Linked DNA regions of Homo sapiens: region 1 is linked to region 2. Evidence: promoter capture Hi-C in human tissues and cell types (Jung and others, 2019). All regions are on one chromosome and are shown on one strand. The core of a region is centred on a gene start or on the middle of the fragment in contact, and the rest is flanking DNA. Distances in the headings are between cores, read along the strand shown.

Region 1 (7,363 bases), core at 1,344-3,843, 44 kb before region 2:
TCAAGTAAAGGCACACTCATGTTTGGAAAATTTCAGGGGAAAATTTTCTTTTTCTTTCTAGTTCTACATAGATTCATGGCCAAACTAGGCAAATATTCTACCATGTCCTTCTGCTTTTTTCTTTCTTTTTCTTTTTTTAATCTTCCTAATTCAACCACACAGTGCATTGCCTTTCAGGATCTCAGGTTCTGTGTGGTGGTTTCTGTTTTTATCTTTCTTTTTTGAGTGCTCCATAAACAGTAATTTTGATTGTTCTCCATGTCTGTGGCTCATTAAAGGCCAAAATGCTACACCACCATAAGTGTTTTCTTACCTCTTTAGATGCCTCCAAAAGCTTCTATTTTCCTGCCAACTCAACCATGAATTTAAAAATTATTTTAAAAATATTTTATCTAATGAGCACACCTAATGTCCAGATTGTGGTTTCTAAATACTATTTTTGAGAAATGGCTGCTGTAGGACTGGCTCATGGAGAGTACACAGTGAACCTGATACATCCTGTTATGCCAGAAAACAAGCAAACTCTGTATGAATGGAGACATGCACACAAACCGAGAACCAGTTTTGGAATAATTTGAGCATCAAAAAGGATAATGAACAGAACTGACTATAACCATTAAATACATAAAAATCTATGACACCACCATGGTGTCAGACAGTAAGATACCTGCTGCAATGAGGAGATTATTATACTAACTCTTTATTTTTAAAATTAGTAATTAGCGGAAAAGTTAATCGTTTGTTATCACGCTTGCAGGAAGTACATTTCAGACGATGGTATGAGATAAAGCTCTTTAAAAACAATCAAACAAACAAATACCAGAAGTTTACTAATGCCGGTTTAGAGAAGAGAGGGAATGAGGGAATTAGAAAATGATTATTTTTTAACACTGAGTAAAATAGTTCAGAAAAGGACTTAGAGGCTAAAGTCATTAAAGAAAATGTTTTGGAGAAACAGGATATTTACTAAAAGCAAAGCATCACAACAAAATCACTTGCTACTTGCATAAAGGGGGAAAATATTCACCTTTAAATTGTAAAGATTTGGCAGTCACCATCTTGACCATGGGATGAAAAGCAGTCTCTCTAACAGTGGACTGCTTGACATCATGTTTCCTGATGAAATGGGGCAGGGCGTGAAACTTATTCTTGCCCAGTGTGCTACACCTGGATAAGATCAAGCCTCTCTCTTTAACTTCCTGTGTTGTAGGACATACACAGGGTTAGAAAAATGACACCATGAGGGAAAGAACACATCTAGACTGTGGAACCTTGTACAATTACACTGCCTGAGTCTCTTCAAAATGTCAAATGCACAAGAAAAAGAGAAGTGGGCAGTGTGAATTTTGATTGAGTCAAAGTTCTAAAAAAAAGGCTAAAAGTATATTTTGGAGAAAATTGAGAAAATTTGAGAATGGACTGGCTCTTAAATAATATTGTAGAATTACAGATTGAGTATTTCTTATCCAAAATGCTTCGGATCAGACGTGTTTCAGAGTTGAGAATTTTTTTTCCAGATTTTAGAATATTTGCATATACATAATGAGACAACTTAGGGGTAGGACCCAAGTCTAAACACAAGTTTCATTTATCTTTCATTACACCTTTTATTATACACATACCCTGAAGGTAATTTTATACAATATTTTATATAATATTGTGCATTAAATAAAGCTTTTGTACATAGAACCATCAGGAAGCAAAGGTGTCACTATCTCAGCCACGCATGTTGACAATCTGTGGTTGGTTGGCAACACTGCCTCTCCTGACTCGATTTGTATGCTATAAGCAATAATTTTCTCACACTTATTCTCACATAAGTACTTAACAATTAAATGTATGACATACAATTAATACAGTGAAAAAATAATGTGTCCAGGGTAACTAAGCAGCCCAATGGCATTACTAAAATACCTGTTTCAGCTGCTAAACAACAACAACAATGAACAATGCCAGGCTTTCTGTCTCCACTTACAATGCTGTGTTTTGGCTAAAAGGTTACTATACACTCTATTTTATTTTCTCAGGTGAGAAGAAACATCAGAAGCAGTTGAGAGACTGAGAAGTGGGTTCTCTACTGATGAAAAGGCATTCTTCTGGATGGCTGTTAAAAAATGTTTCCTAGAGTCATGTGCCTCATTAACAACAGTTGTCGCCTTAGAAGTCTCTCTTTGATTTGTTGATTGTATAAGCTGACACAATTTCTTGTTATGAATGCATGCTGTTCTAGTCCTTCAATAAGCCCATTATATATTTTCACCATGTCATCTATAGGCACTTTTTTCTACAGTGTTAACAATGCCAGCTTCATTGTCACTATTGATCAAAATCACCTTGGTTCAGAATTATTTTGGCTATCTCACCATCAGTCAAGGAATGAACAACTGAAGCCTCATTACTGATGTTAAAAACTTCAATATCTACTTTTTCTAGCTCACTGATTAAAGTCATATTTTTGAAAATATAAGGATTTCAGGCATCATTTTTTCTCATATGACATACAATATCCTTCAAAGTCACCACCTTGTTCATCATGATAACTGAACATAGTTGCAGGCCAGAGGTTGTGTCAGGCATCCAGAACTGTGTCTCTAGTCACTGTGTTCCAAGCATTGGCAACAATATATATATAGCATCCTTCATCCTAAACTCCTTTTGGAAACCTACGCCCATGCCTCTGTTCACTGCTGCTAGGCATGCTGTTCATGAAAATGTTTTTACATTTACTCTTCATTGATCTAAGGATATTCTGGTTACATCACTGAATTAATAAAGTTACATTTTGTGGAAGAGCACAACATAACCATCATTTGTGATGAGAATTTCAGCTGAAGGATGAACAGAACAGTTTTCAAGGAGTAACAATATCTTGCAGTAATCATCCAGTCCAGATTCCCTGCAGTTAGCATGAGCCACTGGTACACAACGTTTGTGAAACCCATCATAAAAGATTTCCCTAGTGATCCATACATTTTTCTTAGCATAATAATGGACTGGCAAGAAATTCATTTCTTGAAAGCAGTGAGGATGCAAGGTTATGTCTATCACAGCAAATTTTCACTTAAGTGTGTCTGCCATATTAGCACATCCCAGCATGGTTATTCTGTCCTCGACATCCTTCATTCTTGTAGGAGCTGTCTCATCAGCTCTACTCAATGTCTTTCTAGGGCAACAATGCCAAAATAGTCATATTTCATCAGAATTATCGATTTGTTCTGGTGTTTTATTTTCATCAGCAATGACCTTAGCTAACTCATCAATGAATTTCTCCACAGTTTCATGATCAGCAGATGCTCTGTCACCAAAAATCTTTGAAAAAATTAATGTTATGTCTTTTTTAAAATTTCTTCATGCAGCCTGTTGGATATTTACAATTCCCTTCAGTCTTCAGTTCATGGTGATAGATTTTTGTTGCTTCATGTCTAGCATACGATTAAGGTACATGTATTAACTGTGATGCTGATGGATCCACTCTTTGAATACACAATTGAGATCTTCATTTTTAGGTTTATGTGGTTTAAAAAATTGTTTTTTCATTAACTTCTCTTCATCAATTTCAGCATAGAACTTTAGCAGTTTATTCTTCTGTTTCTTCATGTCACACATGGTGGTCATTCCAACACCATACTCTTCTGAGATGTTTCACACTTATGCCACTGTCCAGATTCTCCAACAGCTTGACTTTCTGTGCTATAGATAAACATAAATGCCGCCTCTTTTTGTTATCACAGTAGTATCTGCAGGCCTTTTTAACATCTCAACAATACTCTTATACTACAGAATAGAGAATAAACAACAAAACAAAACAACACAAAACACAACACAACACAAAACAAAAAACAACACAACACACACAAAACAGTGAGTAATACATTAGGTCTTGGTCCTATGTGGGGCATTGGGGAACCTGCTGTTGGTATGACCAGCCTGCAAACATGCTGTTTTGTTACCGTTTGTGCATGTGTTCCCTGGGGGAATCTCACAGCTAAAGGAAGCTGAGACGGTCTTTTATCCCTTGGAGGCACTAAACAAACTGTGTTGTGCATCTATATTTTGTGACTCATCACATAAAGTCAGGTGTAAAATTTTCCACTTTTGGTGTCATGTCAGTATTCAAGGAGTTTTGGATTTTGGAGCACTTCAGATTTCAGATTTTAGATTAGGGATGCTTAATCTATATGGTAATTTTAAATATATGATGATGTTTGCATTAGTCAGAGTTTTCCAGAGAAACATAATGAAGAGGATGTGTAGATAGATAGATACATATCTATACAGATATATCTCTATGTGTATCTATAAATAGATGTATATATATGTATACATATACATGTACACACACAGAGATTTATTGTTGGGACTTGGCTTTTATGATTATTATATTAGTCCGTTTCATACTGCTGATAAAGACATACCAGAGACTCAGCAATTTACAAAAGGAAGAGGTTTAATTTGACTCATGTGGCTGGGGAAGATCTCACAATCATCGCGGAAGGTAAAAGGCACTTCTTACATGGTGGCAGCAAGACAGAATAAGGAAGATGCAAAAGTGAAAACCCCTGATAAACCCACCAGATCTCGTGAGACTTATTCACTACCACAAGAACAGTATGGGGGAAACTGCCCCCATGATTCAAATTATTTCCCACTGGGCCCCTCCCACAACACATGGGAATTATGAGAGTACAATTAAAGATGAGATTTGGGTGGGGGCACAGCCAAACCATATCATTCTGCCACTGGCCCCTCCAAATCTCATGTCCTCAACAGTTCAAAATCAATCATGCCTTCCCAACAGTCCCCCAAAGTCTTAACTCATTTCAGCATTAACTCAAAAGTCCACAGTCCAAAGTCTCATCTGAGACAAGGCAAGTCCCTTCCACTTATGAGCCTATAAAATCAAAAACAAGCTAGTTACTTCCTAGATACAATGTTGGTACAGGTATTAGGTAAATACAGCTGTTCCAAATGGGAGAAATTGTCCAAAACAAAGGGGTTACAGGGCCCATGCAAATCCAAAATCCAGCTAGCTGGGTAGTCAAATTTTAAAGCTCAAAAATATTCTCCTTTGACTCCAGGTCTCACATCTAGGTCATGCTGATGCAAAAAGTGGGTTTCCATGGTCTTGGGCAGCTCTGCCCCTGTGGCTTTGCAGGGTACAGCCTCTCTCTCAGCTGCTTTTATGGGCTGGCATTGGGTGTCTGTGGCTTTTCCAGGTGAACAGTGCAAGCTGTCAGTGGATCTACCATTCTGGGGTCTGGAGGATGGTGGCCCTCTTCTCACAGCTCCGCTAGGTGATGCCACAGTAGGTGATGCTCTGTGTGTGGGGGCTCCAACCCCACATTTCCCTTCTGCACTGCCCTAGCAGAGGTTCTTCATGAGCACCCCGCCCCTGCATTAAACTTCTGCCTGGGCATCAAGGCGTTTCCGTACATCTTCTGAAATCTAGGTGGAGGTTCCCAAACCTAAATTCTTGATTTCTGTGCACCCACAGGCTCAACACCACATGGAAGCTGCCAAGGCTTGGGGCTTCCACTCTCTGAAGCCATGGCCCGAGCTGTGTATTGGCTTCTTTCAGCCACGGCTGGAGCAGCTGGGATACTGGGCACCAAGTCCCTAGGCTGCACACAGCATGAGGACCCTGGTCCCAGCCCATGAAACCATTTTTTCCTCCTGGGCCTCCAGGCCTGTGATGAGAGAGGCTGTCATGAAGGTCTCTGACATGGCCTGGAGACATTTTTCCCAGGATCTTGGGGATTAACATTAGACTCCTTGCTACTTATGCAAATTTCTGCAGCCAGCTTGAATTTCTTCTCAAAAAATGCTTTTATTTTTCTTCTGCATCATCAGGCTGCAAATTTTCTGAACTTTTATGCTCTGTTTCCCTTTTAAAATGGAATGCTTTTAACAGTACCCAAGTCACCTCTTGCATGTTTTTCTGCTTAGAAATTTATTCCACCAGATATCCTAAATCATCTCTCTCTAGTTCAAAGTTGCACAAATCTCTAGGGCAGGGGCAAAATACTGTCAGTCTCTTTGCTAAAACATAACAAGAGTCACCTTTGCTCCTGTTCCCAAAAAGTTCCTCATCTCCGTCTGAGACCACCTTAGCCTGGACCTTATTGTTCATACCACTATCAGCATTTTTGTCAAAGCCATTCAACAAATCACTAGGAGGTTTCAAACTTTCCCACATTTTCCTGTCTTCTTCTGAGCCCTCCAAACTGTTTCAACCTCTGCCTGTTACCCAGTTCCAAAGTCAATTCCACATTTTTGGGTATCTTTTCAGCAACACCCCACTCTACTAGTACCAATTTACTGTATTAGTCTGTTTTCATGCTGCTGATAAAGACATACTCAAGACTGGGGAATTTTCAAAAGAAAGAGGTTTAATTCGACTCAGTCCTACGTGGCTGGGAAGGTCTCACAATCATGGCAGAGGATGAAAGGCACTTCTTACATGGCAGCAGCAAGAGAGAATGAGAAAGATGCAAAAGCAGACACCCCTGATAAACCCATCGGATCTTGTAAGACTTATTCACTACCATGAGAACAGTATGGGGGAAACCACCCCCATGATTCAATTATCTCCCACTGGGTCCCTCCCATAACACATGGGAATTATGGGAGCACAATTCAAGATGAGACTTGGGTGGGGATACAGAGCCAAAACAAATCAATTATGGAAGCTTGTTCAGTCCAAAATCTGATGAAGGAAGCTGGCAGGAAGGAGACTAAGGAAAAATATCAGAGGTCAAATTCAACTGCAGTCTGCTGGTAAACCAGAAGGAGTCAATGTTGAAGTTCAAGTCAAAGACTGTGTGCTGGCAGTATTTCCTCTTGCTTGGGGGAGGTCAGCCTTTGTATTACTCAGACCTTTAACTGATTGAATGAGACCCATCCATATTATGAAGGGCAATTTGCTTTACTGAAGTTTCACTGATTCAAATGTAAATCTTATCCAAAAATACACTCACAGACACCAAGAATAAAGTTTAACCAAATAACCAGGCACTGTGGCCCAGTCCAGTTGTTATTATTCTTAGCAGATGCCTGCAGAACTACTTAATGATAAAGTATCATGATACCAATAGCTCACTTCAAAATGATTGAGAATATACACACACACGTATATGTAATATATATACCTTCATATAAACACGCACACACATAGTAAAATTTCAGCAATTGTTTATTCTGAGCACTAGGTATAGCAAGTTATAGCTTAAGAATCTTTTTTTAATCTAAACTTTTTATTTGGTCCTTTGAAGGGATTTTTGTTTTCGTGTTTGTTTTTGTATGTGTACTTTAAGATATACCTAGAGTACATAATAGGCAATATTAATTTTATTTTTAACTATTA
Region 2 (7,422 bases), core at 4,687-7,186:
TGGTGTTTAAGCTCAGATGGTTCCCCTGTAAAAACTATTTCTGGAGTCTGTGGTTTTAGCCAAGAAATCTTTGTGTGCCATTCTTGTCACTTTTATACTGCAAGTTAAACAAATGTCCTAAAATGATTAATCATGCACTTTAAATAAGATATAAGGGCTAGATGATGATGGTAAGATATGAATTGGTTCACTCAGCAGAAATCAGAATAAAAACTGGAAGTATCGAAAATATAGTGGGAATTGAGCATAGGTGTGTTGCTCCTTCATCCCCAAATAGTTTTTATTTTCTATGACAAAATAACTTCTAAAAATAATCTAAAAATTCTATAATAGTACTGTCCACTGAGTTGAGGACGAATATGTGGATTACTGTTTTAAGACATATTTTGGAAGAAAAGATAAGCCATATGGCTAGTGGGAAATAAAGCAATATTTGGGTCCAGAAAAAAATGTATTTTCTTCTCTGTTACAAGGGACACGAACACCAGACTGTTAACTTTGGACTTTATCATAGCTATTGCAGCTAGATGAAAATGTCGGATGGATGAATGTTGAATAAATCCATATGCCACTGTCAAAATGCAGGAACTGGCTGTACCATGGACTTGCTCATAGGATCATGTTAAAAGTAGAAATTAAAGAGAAATTTAGAAAATCAACTAGACTATCAAATCTAATGTGTTCTTAATTTGCACACTTAAGTATTTATGGAAATTAAATTTTGGTTAACGCATAATATGTAATGAAATTCTTACAAAACGTAAATATCAGTAAATTTGGGCAAAACAAAAAACATCAAATTTTTAATCTTTTCTTTTGGGTTAGAAAGTGGAATAAAGATACTGATATTACAGTTCACAAATTAAAATATGTGTTTTTCTGTGTCTTAGTAATCACCGCCATAAAGATCAGAAAAATATTTAAACTCTCTCAAAAGTGTTTCTTTTCTTAATTAAAGGATAGCTATTGCATACTAAAGACAGGCTCTTTTCAAAATTATTTGGTAGAAGAGTCAATACATTGGAAGTCAACTAATAAAATCAGATTTGTGACAATTTCTACAAAGTTCCAAATTTCTCTACCTGCATAAACAGGGCATTTCTGCTTTGTTTATTTTGTGTCATTTTGAAAAGTTAATAAATTATGTCATAATCAAGTTGCTGATTGAGTTGGTCATTTGCTTCCTTTACAACTTTCTTTTCCTTGACGGGATTATTAATAGACTTTTAACCCTCTGAATGCATAATAACGTTCAGAACCTCAGCTTTCAAAGTAGCAAGTACCATGCTCCATAATCTCTAATCTAGCTAAAAGGCTCAAATTCTTTTATGAACTTAACTCAGTAGACAAGTCTCTAGTCAACCCCTTCAATGGGAAATGTGATCATAGGACATCCTAAAATTTGATTCCTATTTTAGCGTGCCTCCAGGTCCTGATCTAATCCAGAATAGGTCTAACCAAAGCTTTCACAGCTTCACTTTTAAGTTTTAAATGATTTTAAGTCCATGTAAATTTGGAAATTACTAACAGTTTAGGTCTAGTCAAGGATTCATCCAAACTGCTTTGCTATTTTTCTCAGGTTTTTCCCAATACCAGTATTATATCAATAGAAGCCAACTTCTGCTGCTCAGTACATGACATTCTATTTTAGTCATAAGGTATTAGTATATACAAACTCAATATCAAAAGATGGGGGCTTTCCCTTTTTGTAGGAAATGTGGACAAAGGTGATGTCATTCATTCCTATGGCTTTAAATTCCCTGTATTTATATCTCCAATCCAGACTTTTCTCTGTAGTTCAAGCTTCTATATTCAATTCCTACATGAACAACTCTCCTGGTATTTCAAATTTAACTTCTCTGAAATTAAATTCTTTCTTCCTGCCTCTCCACCCCAACTTGCTTCTGCTCCTCCCTCAGCCTCCAACTCCCAATCTGTTCCTCCCCCAAACATTTCTCTGTAAGTCAATGGCTTCACTAGCCTCACTACTAAAGCCAGAAACCATGTAGTCGTCTTTGATTCAATCGTTTCTCTCATCTGATACATGCAGTCCATCAGTGTATTAGTTCACTAGGGCTGCTATAACAAACTACCATAGGCTGGGTGGCTTATAAACAACAGGAATTTATTTCTCACAGGTCTGGAGGCTGGAAAGTCCAAGATTAAGATGCTGGCAGATGTGATGTCTAGTGAGACTCCTCTTCATAGATGGCCATCTTTTCAGCGTCCTCACATGGAGGAAGTGGCAGAGGAGCTCTGTGAGGCCTCTTTCATGAAGGCACCAATTCCATTCATGACCAGCTCTCCTTTCATTACCTAATCAGCTCCCAAAGGTGCCACTTCCTAATACCATCACCTTGGGGGTTAGGATTTCAACATATGGATTGTGGGGTGGGGGCAGGGGGGTGGAGGAGATACACATTCAGGAAGCTCTATTCTTTCTTTAAACTGTATCTTCAACCCATCACTTCTCTCCCTCTACCTCCTCTGTTAATACTCTAATCTATCGCCGTAATAGTTCATCTAAGCTACTACTTCAACTATCACCATTTTTTCTAGCTGGTCTTCCTGCTTTCATGCTTGTCCCTTTCCAATCCTTTCTCCTCAAAGTGGCCAGTGACACTAATAAAAATGCATATCATATCATATAATTCTCCTGCCTGAGATATCTTACTGGTTTTCCACTGGACCAATAAAATATAAGCACTTATCAATAAAATGTAAGCAATGCCCTACAAGATCTGGCTGCAGAAGTCTACTCAGATCTCACGTTCTACCTTTCTCTTTCAAGCTCCAGTTGCCTTGGCCTTCTTTCTATTCCTCAAACATGCCAAGAGTTCTTTTACGTTAGGACCTTTGCGCTTTGCCTATAGTTCACCTTCCTGGCTTCACATAATTGACTCCTTTGAATCTTCAGGTCTCATGATAAATGTTACCTACTCAGAAAGATCTTCCCTAAGCTCATCAAGTCTCTCTACCTTGTCACTGTTTTCTCTTATGCTGCTATTTTTCCCCCTCCCAGCACTTACATAAAGCTCTAATTATTTATTTCTTGCTTTGTTGTCTGCTGTCCTTAGAAGAATTTATGTTCCATGAGATGGGAACCATGCATATACATCTGTCTTGCTGAGGACGTTAACCCTAGAACCTGTGAGAGTAACTGAAGCTTGGTTAATATTTGTTTAATAAAAACCACAATTATTTGAAGGAATGAAAGCTTGTTTATTCTTTGAACATGGATTTTCTGATTACAGATTCTATGTTGTTTGTACTCTAACATTTTGCTGATGAACACATAGTGTTGTGTAAATATTTGTGATTGATAATAAAGTGCAAGATTTTCTGGATTTTTAAAATGTCATTTACAAACTGACCATGAAGTTGGAAGAAATTTTACTTCTATAACAAAAATCATATTGATGATAGCCCACGTTTTGGATTATTTTAAATTAAAATATAAGTTTCACATACCTTTTTGCCTTCCTCTTCCTCTCTTTTCTTCCTCTGCCTGCCAGGCAGACAGGACCCCTGGGCCCAGATTGGGGATTGGCATTCAGAAGGGGTGAAGAAAAACATTTCGGAGAGATATGCTTTGTAGCCAGGCAATTCTGAGGAAAGTGTCCTGGGAACATACCAGGTTAAATCCCAGGCAGCCTGTTCACATGAACCATATAGCTGAGGAAGCAGCTCAGGATGACCCTGAGATGGGGCTGGTCAGACCTGACTCTAGAGAAGTTCAAAGAAGGAAAATTAGTCCAGAGTAAGTTGCTGAAGCAGATTTTAGATTTTTGTTAGGTGCCTACCTTCCTAGGTGGACAAGATATGGTTGAAGGTGTTGGCTCAGCCAGCACAACTAATAATGGGTGCAAGTACAGAGCATATTACACTTTGGGTTCCACTGAAAACAAGAGAATCTGCAGGGCTCTGAGACTTAGGACCCTTGAAATCTTTGAACCCTGTATTCCTTTCCTCCAATGCAAACAGTCTTTCAGTAGTTAATCATTTACCTTTTCTTCTTAAAAAGAATGTATTTCATATAATCTATTTCATTTTGTGGGGTTTTTGTGCTTGTATATCAAATCTAGTGAATACAAGTGGGGGTTGATGACATATTTATCTTCTGGGAGTTCTGTATGTCTAGGGTGTTCTAGTTGCTATGCATTAGGGTGTCAAGTATAGTTATAAATACAATGAACACATGTGTGTGTGGTAAAGCCCTGTCATTTCCTTAAGACGGGGGACCAACTTCAACCAAACACTACCCAGCAAAAGCCAACAAGAATGGACAAAGATTATGCCTACCTTCTTCCTTCCTTCCCTTACTCTTGTTCTCCTTCTTTCATTAATTTATTAACTCAATTTATTAAGCACTTACTGTGCACATTGTTCATTGCACAAAACAAGAAAAAAGACATAAACTTTCAAGGGTTTTCCAATTAAGATTTTATTTGACCAACAAAACATACTCATATGAAAATATAAATAAGGTAAAAGGAGCAGTGTAGTCATTATGATCTAAAACAATATTTTTCAAATTGTAGGTTGCCAGTCATTCTTTGCTGGGTCATAAAATAAATTTTTTTGGTTGGGACTATACTTTACCAAATAATAATAACAAAATCAACAGGAGAGAAAAAGGCAAATATCAGTGTATATTGCAGGTAATAAAATAGATGTTTTCATAAAATTTTTGCAGAACAAATGTATGTATGCACTACATGTCAATGTAAAGTGTATGGCTTACTACAAGACAGGGCTAAAAAATGTTTGAAAGACACAATACAGATGATTATAGAAGAAAGTTAATATTAAGTTGAATGATTAAGGAAGGTTTTTGGAGGCTGAAAGTACATAAATAAAGCTTAGAGGGGATGGGATGCCTTTTTAGATGAAAAGCTGCATAAAATAGTTCTATAATTGTGAACTATAACCATATGAGAAAGTGAATTCTATAGAACCAGCTTATTCTTGAATGACTACCCCAGGACCAATTATCTTTCCAGAAACTTCCAGGAAACACATGACCAATATCTAACTAAATTGAGCTCTGATGCCACAAAGGGAAACTTAACAGAGTTGCTCCTGTGAAGTATACCCCACTAGAAGGGTGGTTCAGGATATCTTCTGTCCAATTGCGTGTTTCAAATATTTATGTATTTAAGATATTAAGATTTTTTTAATGTGAAATATCTAAAGATTCACCTCAATAAATTGAAAGTGATATTTTTCCCCTGAGTCCCTTGTATTAGATTCACTTGTGACTTCATTGGACAGTGTCTTCTCTGAGCTCTATGGTCTAATACGTATTGAACAAAAATTCAAGGACTCAACAACTGATTTATTTTAGCATTTCTTTTTAATACAAAAGAAGGAAATAAAAGAATAAAAGCAGTCGGGGTGGCCTCTGGAGAAGGGGAGCTGTTGTTGCAGGAATCTTGCAAGTTAATGAGAATTCACCCGGGACTCAAGAGGGATGGAGAGAGGGGGAGAAAGGAGATGGGGGAATGGGGTGGGGGGATAAAAACTCTTCCTTTGCAGCTGGCCCTTTCCCTCATTTGTTGCTCCAATAAGCAGTAATTAGGTCCTGAGCTAATGGTGTCAGCTGATCTGCTGTTTTTAGGCTAGACCCAGAGGAATCTCCATGGAAACCCTGCTGGAGTCGTCCCCCCACCTGGATGCTGCGTGCTCCTTTCTGCCACCTGGCTGCCGCCGGGCCCGCTGCTACCTCCTTCTGCCTCTAACCTGCAGCCTGCAGCATGCGCACTGCCCCCGGGATCCCTAAATGGGACAATTCTGCCCGTGACGTCAGCGCCCAGCCGTCTCCACAGAAACTTTTGTCCCATTGGCCAATCAGAGAGCTTGGAAGGGGCCGGGGAGGGTGGGGGAAGGAGAGGGGAGTGGGAGGGGTGGGGGTGAGGGGAGAGGCGAGAGGTTTAGCGTGTGGAGCTGCCTGCGCTCCGCCCGGGCTGTCAGTCCCGGCTCCAGCCGCCGCGAGACCTTCCCGGAGACGCGCGCACACACAGCGCACCCCCTGCACACCGCACACCCTCGCTCCCTTGCTCACACACACGCACACACTCAGCCTGGCCGAGCAGGAGCCACTGACCATTTTGCAAGTGTCAGGACCAGCTACAGCGCGGTGGGCGCAAACATCCCGCTTTCCCTTTCCGGGATTTAGTCTGGGAGACGACGACGAGGGAAGAAGGTGGGCTCGGACGCAGCCCAGGCGCCGGGCACTGGTCGGGCCGTTTTCCTGGCAGAGCCGCTCCCCGGGACGGGCGCGGGCCTCGGGTGAGAGTAGAATAAAGAGGAGCGGCCGCAGCCGCCGCGCGAGGAGGATGGGAACTCCCCTATTTCCAGCTCTGGAAACAAATGGATGGAAGTCCTGAATGGAGCAACTGCTGACTTCATCTGCTTGGAAAAATAGTCCAGAGGAACTCATATTTGGCTACTCAGAGCAGTGGAGGGGGTGTCCATGACGTGGCAGGGGGAAAATAGACAACTGAAACCTCCCGTGTGAACTGCAAACTGTGACCAAGCAAGGGGAAAATGATCTTTCTGTATATATTTTAATTTCGTGCAAAGGTTTTCAAGCATCTGTATCCTAAACTTACTTCTATGTCTTGTTCAGCAGAAACCAGAGGAGTCCTGTCTGGGGGTCCCATCATTATTCGGGATACCCGCCGCCAGCGGCCTGCCTTCGGTTACCCACATCCCCCTGGAACGGATATCTGTTTGGGGCACTACAATCTATCCTGTAGAACTATGGCCAAATCTCCATCAATGCTTTGCTAATTTCTGGGACTTAACTCGTAGAATCTACATACAGGGCTGGAATTTATTCAAAATGCATCTGAAGAAATGACATTTTAAACCGTTTTAAAAAATATCTTGATAAAAAATTCTGTAAAACAGAATTTGATAGGTTTAAAAACATGACAGGTAAGAACTTTCTCTTTCTAGTCCCTTAACACCCGTCGTGGGGAAGGTCAAAGCAGGACCCAGGAGGAAGGAGAGATCCGGGACCCGTGTGCCCTTCGGGGCTCAAAGGCGCTGGGCGGGCGGCTGCTTTCGGGAGAGGCGCAGCCCTCACTCCTGGACCACGGGGCCAGTGGCTGGGGAAGCTTCTGGGGCGCGCGCGGGGAGGCGGCGCTGCGCTCCACCTGCCCAGCCCCGGACGCAGCCCGGGGGCGAGGCGTCTAGGGACCACCCCAATTCAATATTGGGATTTTTAATAAACCAAGGAATGGGATTTTAATTATTGAAAACCCAGCTCCTCTGGGCCAGAATGGTGTTGGGATGGTCCTGGTCACAAAATATTAAAGAGACCGACCGCTAAGGGAACAGGAAAAACGTCCGAGACAGCCGTTGCAATTACGAATGGACCAGACTTGGTAGCACGGGGCATTGATTGCTGGTGCC

The links. Contacts are between HindIII fragments. The study calls those that stand out against the background at their distance.
Region 1: a contact is called between a fragment that was not itself captured here and the fragment with the promoter of NOL4 in region 2, in 1 of the 25 tissues and cell types used here (mesendoderm cells).

The regions. Positions count from the first base shown.
Region 1 is chr18:34,264,529-34,271,891 of GRCh38, reverse strand. It overlaps LOC124904280 (a long non-coding RNA gene), which reads left to right. Exons shown (of 2, transcript XR_007066331.1): 2 at 2,028-2,464. Among named protein-coding and RNA genes, the nearest start is that of NOL4, 43 kb to the right of the region's middle. The HindIII fragment of the contact is 3,178 bases long and covers 1,005-4,182 here.
Region 2 is chr18:34,223,427-34,230,848 of GRCh38, reverse strand. NOL4 (nucleolar protein 4) reads left to right here and starts at 5,936. Exons shown (of 11, transcript NM_003787.5): 1 at 5,936-7,422. The HindIII fragment of the contact is 4,883 bases long and covers 4,040-7,422 here.